Regions from separate parts of the Homo sapiens genome. Here region 1 is linked to region 2. The links are contacts of gene promoters, found by promoter capture Hi-C in human tissues and cell types (Jung and others, 2019). All regions are on one chromosome and are shown on one strand. The core of a region is centred on a gene start or on the middle of the fragment in contact, and the rest is flanking DNA. Distances in the headings are between cores, read along the strand shown.

What was found. Contacts are between HindIII fragments. The study calls those that stand out against the background at their distance.
Region 1: a fragment that was not itself captured here is called in contact with the fragment with the promoter of BMP8A in region 2 in 1 of the 25 tissues and cell types used here (neural progenitor cells).

Annotation. Positions count from the first base shown.
Region 1 is chr1:39,801,176-39,803,875 of GRCh38, forward strand. LINC02811 (long intergenic non-protein coding RNA 2811) reads right to left here. Exons shown (of 4, transcript NR_186710.1): 4 at 239-309. All of the region lies in intron 1 of LOC130932201 (a long non-coding RNA gene), which reads left to right. Among named protein-coding and RNA genes, the nearest start is that of BMP8B, 14 kb to the left of the region's middle. The HindIII fragment of the contact is 4,619 bases long and covers 1-2,700 here.
Region 2 is chr1:39,490,369-39,493,068 of GRCh38, forward strand. BMP8A (bone morphogenetic protein 8a) reads left to right here and starts at 1,268. Exons shown (of 7, transcript NM_181809.4): 1 at 1,268-1,957. The coding sequence starts at 1,624. LOC124904101 (a long non-coding RNA gene) reads right to left here and starts at 1,180. Exons shown (of 2, transcript XR_007065978.1): 1 at 321-1,180. RefSeq lists silencers at 767-1,396, 1,497-1,596. The HindIII fragment of the contact is 32,682 bases long and covers 1-2,700 here.

The DNA.
Region 1 (2,700 bases), core at 64-2,563, 310 kb after region 2:
CTTTTGTGGCAATAAGATACAAAATTATAGGCTGGGCGCGGTGGCTCACGCCTGTAATCCCAGCACTTTGGGGAGGCTGAGGCGGGCAGATCACTTGAGGTCAGGAGTTTGAGACCAGCCTGGCCAACATGGCAAAACCCTGTCTCTACTAAAAATACAAAAATTAGCCGGGCATGGTAGTGCACATCTGTAATCCCAGCTACTTGGGAGGCTGAGGCAGGAAGATCACTTGAACCTGGGAGGCGAAGGTTGCGGTGAGCCAAGATCACGCCATTGCACTCCAGCCTGGGCAACAGAGTGAGATTCCATCTAAAAAAAAAAAAAAAAAAAGATACAGGCCAGGCCAGGCAAGGGTTAAGTCACCCACCCCTACACTTAAAGAATAAACTAAGTTCTAACAGCCACAAGGTTTTTCGTTTTCTCTAGCAGAACAATAAGCACTGGCCTTGAGATAAGCAATATGAAAATAATTGCAGCACATCCACTAACTGACCACTGTTTCCATAAGCCATAACTACAGCTTGGACTGGACAAGAGACTGATATCAATAATTTTCTCCTGATAGTAAGACCACCGACCACGGACTGGTTCTGGCCAGTTTACAGAGGCTGTGCACTTGAGCGCTTTTGTGTCCTGAAAAGACCTTTTGACATCTAGGGCCTAATTGTAATATATTTATTTATTTATTATGATTATTATTTTTGAGATGGAGTCTCGCTGTTGCCCAGGCTGGAGTGCAGTGGCACAATCTCGCCTCACTACAACCTTTGCCTCCTGGGTTCAAGCAATTCTCATGCCTCAGCCTCCTGAGTAGCTGGGATTACAGATGCGTGCCACCACACCCAGCTAGTTTTTGTATTTTTAATAGAGACAGGGTTTTGCCATGTTAGCCAGGCTGGCCTCAAACTCCCGACCTCAAGTGATCTACCTGCCTCAGCCTCCCCAAAGTACTGGGATTACAGGCGTGAGCCACTGCGCCTGGCCTCATAATTGTAATACATTTAAATGTTAAGTGTCCACTCCAGCCGGGCGCGGTGGCTCACGCCTGTAATCCCAGCACTTTGGGAGGCCGAGGCGGGTGGATCACCTGAGGTCAGGAGTTTGAGACCAGCCTGGCCAACATGGTGAAACTCCATCTCTACTAATAATACAAAAATTAGCTGGGCGTGGTAGTGCACATCTGTAATCCCAGCTACTTGAGAGGCTGAGGCAGGAGAATCACTTGAACCCGGGAGGCCGAGGTTGCAGTGAGCCGAGATCGCGCCATTGCACGCCAACCTGGGCAAGGGCCTGTCTCAAAAAAAAAAAAAAAAAAGTGTCCACTCCAGGGTGAACATGAGTCTCCAAAATTTTAATATAAACAAAACGTGAAATCTTGTTCTTCCACACATTCCCCACACAAGTGCTGCCAAGATCATCTGAAAAGTTTTAATCTACAAAGAAAGGTCCAGGACCATTGTCCATGGCTCTGCCCCTCCTACCCCCGGCTTTTCAGTTCCTTATCTCCCCATCACAATGCCGTCCTTCCCCACTTCACCGTGCCCCGATGTCCCTGACAACCCTCTGCAACTAGTCAAAGCCCCGGACTACCGTTGGGCCCACAAATTCATGTCTTTCCTGCTTGCTTGCTCCACCAATCAAGCCACTTCTCTTTCTAGGCCTCCTCAAGACCTCCTTCAATTTCTGCCTATCCATCAACTCATTTCTGCCTCCATTTTCCTCTTTAACCAGCTTAAATGTCATGTTCCATCATTTCAATCACTTCCTTGCAAACATCCTAAAATCCTTGGCTCTCCCTTTGTCCTCAGCACCAACCTATCAAAACTCCAAACATGTTCAGGCATGGTGGCTCACGCCTGTAATCCCAGCACCGAGGCCAACGCGGGAGGATCACTTGAACTCAGGAGTTCGAGGCCGCCTGAGCAACACAAAGAGACCTTGACTGTACTGGGGAAAAAAAAAATAGCCAGGTATAGTGGTGTGAACCTGTAGTCCCAGCTACTCAGGAGGCTGAGGTGGGAGGATTTCTGGAGCCCTGGAGATCGAGGCTGCAGTGAGCTATGATTGCACCACTGCATTCCAGCCTGGACAACAGAGCGAGACTGTTTCTATTTTTTTTTTTTTTTTTTTGAGACGGGGTCTTGCTCTGTCACCCAGACTGGAATGCAGTGGTGCGATTTCGGTTCACTGCAAGCTCCGCCTCCCAGGTTCACGCCATTCTCCTGCCTCAGCCTCCGGAGTAGCTGGGACTACAGGCACCCGCCACCTCGCCCGGCTAATTTTTTGTATTTTTATTACAGACGGGGTTTCACTGCATTAGCCAGGATGCTCTCGATCTCCTGACCTCATGATCCGCCCGCCTCGGCCTCCCAAAGTGCTGGGATTACAGGCATGAGCAACCGTGCCCAGCCTGACTCTGTTTCAAGAAACAAAACAAAACAAACCCTCCAAACTCTAGGTGAACCTAACTATGCCTCTCCTTTATGCTTACAGCCAGGCCAGGAAGCATTTTTTAAGAACTACTGGGGGTGTAAGTAACACTATAAATTCAGTCACCAACCTCAATGCCGTTAGACAATTCCAGTGCATTTTGATGTTTAGTTGCACTGTCCTCAGACTTCAAGCTTCCCTTCTAGCTCCTCGCTCTCAGCAGATCACCTAATGTTATAGCTGCCTAATCCTCCTTTCCTTCTCACTGCT
Region 2 (2,700 bases), core at 18-2,517:
CTCCAGCCTCCGCCGTTTGCCCCCTGGGCTCTCCAGTTTCCACTGCCCCCCTGCCCGAGCGCAGCTCCACTGCTGTGTGACCTGGCGTAAGTCCCTTAACCGCCGTGTGCCTCAGTTTCCTCATTTATTAAAAGAGGAGGTTCCAGTGGTATGTACCCCCTAACGATGTGCGAGCATCACAGAAATGACACGAGACACACACTCAGAACATGCCTTGGCGTGGCAAGTGCTGACTGTTGCCATTATTAGGCTCCCCAGCCGGGGTCTCAGGGCCTTGGCACAAGCTATTCCCTCTGCCTGGAGCACTTTCCTCCACTGACCTTTCCTGGCGCTCCAGGTCAACTCCAGGAGCCTTCCCAGTGCAGTCTAGGTGCCTTCTCCTTCCGCAGCGCCTGAACCACACAGGAATAAGTAAGGCGAGAGCGCGCCCAGGGAAGAGCAGGTGTGCAGAAAGGGACTGAGTCAGTCGAGACGTTTCCGCGGGGATCCTTCTCTTGGCAGGCCTGCACCGGGGCCGTGGGGACTGAGAAGATGTGCACAGGTGGCTCCCGAGTGCTCGGGAAGGGCCCCAGAGCTTCTGGCCCAGCTGGAGGCAGGAGGCGGAGCCTCCTCCGCAAAGCTGGATCAGTACCGGGGACGCAGGGCGCACAGCTAGGGCTGGCGGGGGCGGCCCGACTGGGGCGCTGCCTGGGCTCACGCGGGAGCCAGGTGGGGGACGCAGGGAGAAGCAGCCGAGCAGGTGCCGAGAAGGAGGCGCCCGCAGAAGCGCATGCAGGGGCCACGGGGAAGGCGCCAGGAGGCGGTGAGGGGCCGCGGTGGCCGGAACCCGGGCCGGCTGCTGCGGGCAGAGGAACAGGCCCCACCCGCGGGGCTTGGCTGGCACCGCCCGGCTCTCCAGACGGGGCTACGGCCGCGTGTCGGGCCCGGTGGCGACCACGGCACACCACGGCGAGGCAGCCGGGTGGCACCACTGGCGGGACCGGGACGGCGCCGCGGCCTTAGGATCTCTGCGCCGAGGCCCGCGGCGGGAGCCACGACGGCCCTGACCACGCTGACGCCCAGGCTGCGGGCTCCTCGCCCGGACCAACCGCCAGCCACGCCGAGGTCGCACCTCGGGGTCGCCCCACCCGCAACACCTGCCGCCGCCCGGGGCTCCTAGCGGGCGCGGCCTCCGCGCCCAGGCCCCGCCCCCGCGCCCCCATTGGTCAGTCCCGGGGGTGGGCGGGCGGCACAGACGGCTGAGCCGGGGCAAGGACTCGCGGGAATCGCGCCGCCCGGGTCGCTGCCGGAGCTCGCCGGTCGCCCCTGCGCTGCGCGGACCGCAGCCACAGCCGGACTGGTGGGAACGGCGGCGACAGACGGATTGGCTGACAGTCCCAGCCCTCAGAACAGCCCCGGCCTCGAAGCGTTGGCGTCTGCGTCCGCGTCAGCGTCCGCTTGTCCCGGAGCCGGGGCAGGTGCGCGCGGGGGGCGCTCCAGGGACCGCGCTGAGGCCGCAGACGCCGCCCGCCGAGCCCCGCCCCCTGCTCGCCGAACTCAGCTCCCCGTTCGCCGTCGGGGCGTCCCCGGGCCCAGGGGCGGCGGCGGAGCTGATGTGCGCCCGCTGAGCGCCCCCGGCCCGCCATGGCCGCGCGCCCCGGACCGCTCTGGCTTCTGGGCCTGACGTTGTGCGCGCTGGGCGGGGGCGGCCCCGGCCTGCGACCCCCGCCCGGCTGTCCCCAGCGACGTCTGGGCGCGCGCGAGCGCCGGGACGTGCAGCGCGAGATCCTGGCGGTGCTCGGGCTACCCGGGCGGCCCCGGCCCCGCGCGCCACCCGCCGCCTCCCGGCTGCCCGCGTCCGCGCCGCTCTTCATGCTGGACCTGTACCACGCCATGGCTGGCGACGACGACGAGGACGGCGCGCCCGCGGAGCAGCGCCTGGGCCGCGCCGACCTGGTCATGAGCTTCGTCAACATGGGTGAGTGCGGCCGCCCGCGCGGGGACCCTCGGAGTAAGCTGGCTGCAGGGGAGGGGCGCGCATCCGCGGGCGGTGCCGGGCCCTGGCCGAACGGGGAATCACAGACGGTGGACGCGAACCACAGGGGAGTGGGACCGCCGTGGTTAGGGAAGGTCTAAGGGTCATGGGGGCCCCCTGGGCTGCGGGGTGGTCAGGAGCAGAGTGTGGGGGACTGTGGACTCCCAGGCGCTGCCTTCACCCTGCCCCAGACACACCCAGGAGTAAGAATTAGGTGATGTCTTTGCCCACCTGGGCTGCCCCGGGAAGACAGCCTGGTCCTGGGGAGACAGGTGAGTAAACAGAGGCCGGGATGCTGTCACTGTGATAAGGACAGTACTGAGGAGAGGGACAAAGTTCAGCGTGGAAACCTGTGGTCACATCATCGGAGTGACCAGAGCTGAGTCGCGTGCCCTGAGTCCACAGCAGGCTCTTCCCTGTGCGGAGCCTGGGTGGGGTGCGGCTGTCAGGGGAGCGGCTGGGGAAGGAGCAGACTCAGCTCGCTGGGGCAGGGACTGTGGCCTTGTCACCCTGGGCCCTGCACTTAGCATGTGGCCTGGTATAGGGTGAGTGTCCGGTCCTGTGGAATGGCCCAGTGGGCAGCTGGACCCACTGTGTTCTCCCAGGCAAAGCCGGGCTTTTCCTGTCTGCAAACATCTTGTATCAAACCCTGGAGCTATTTATTCCTTAAGATCTCAGATTTTTCT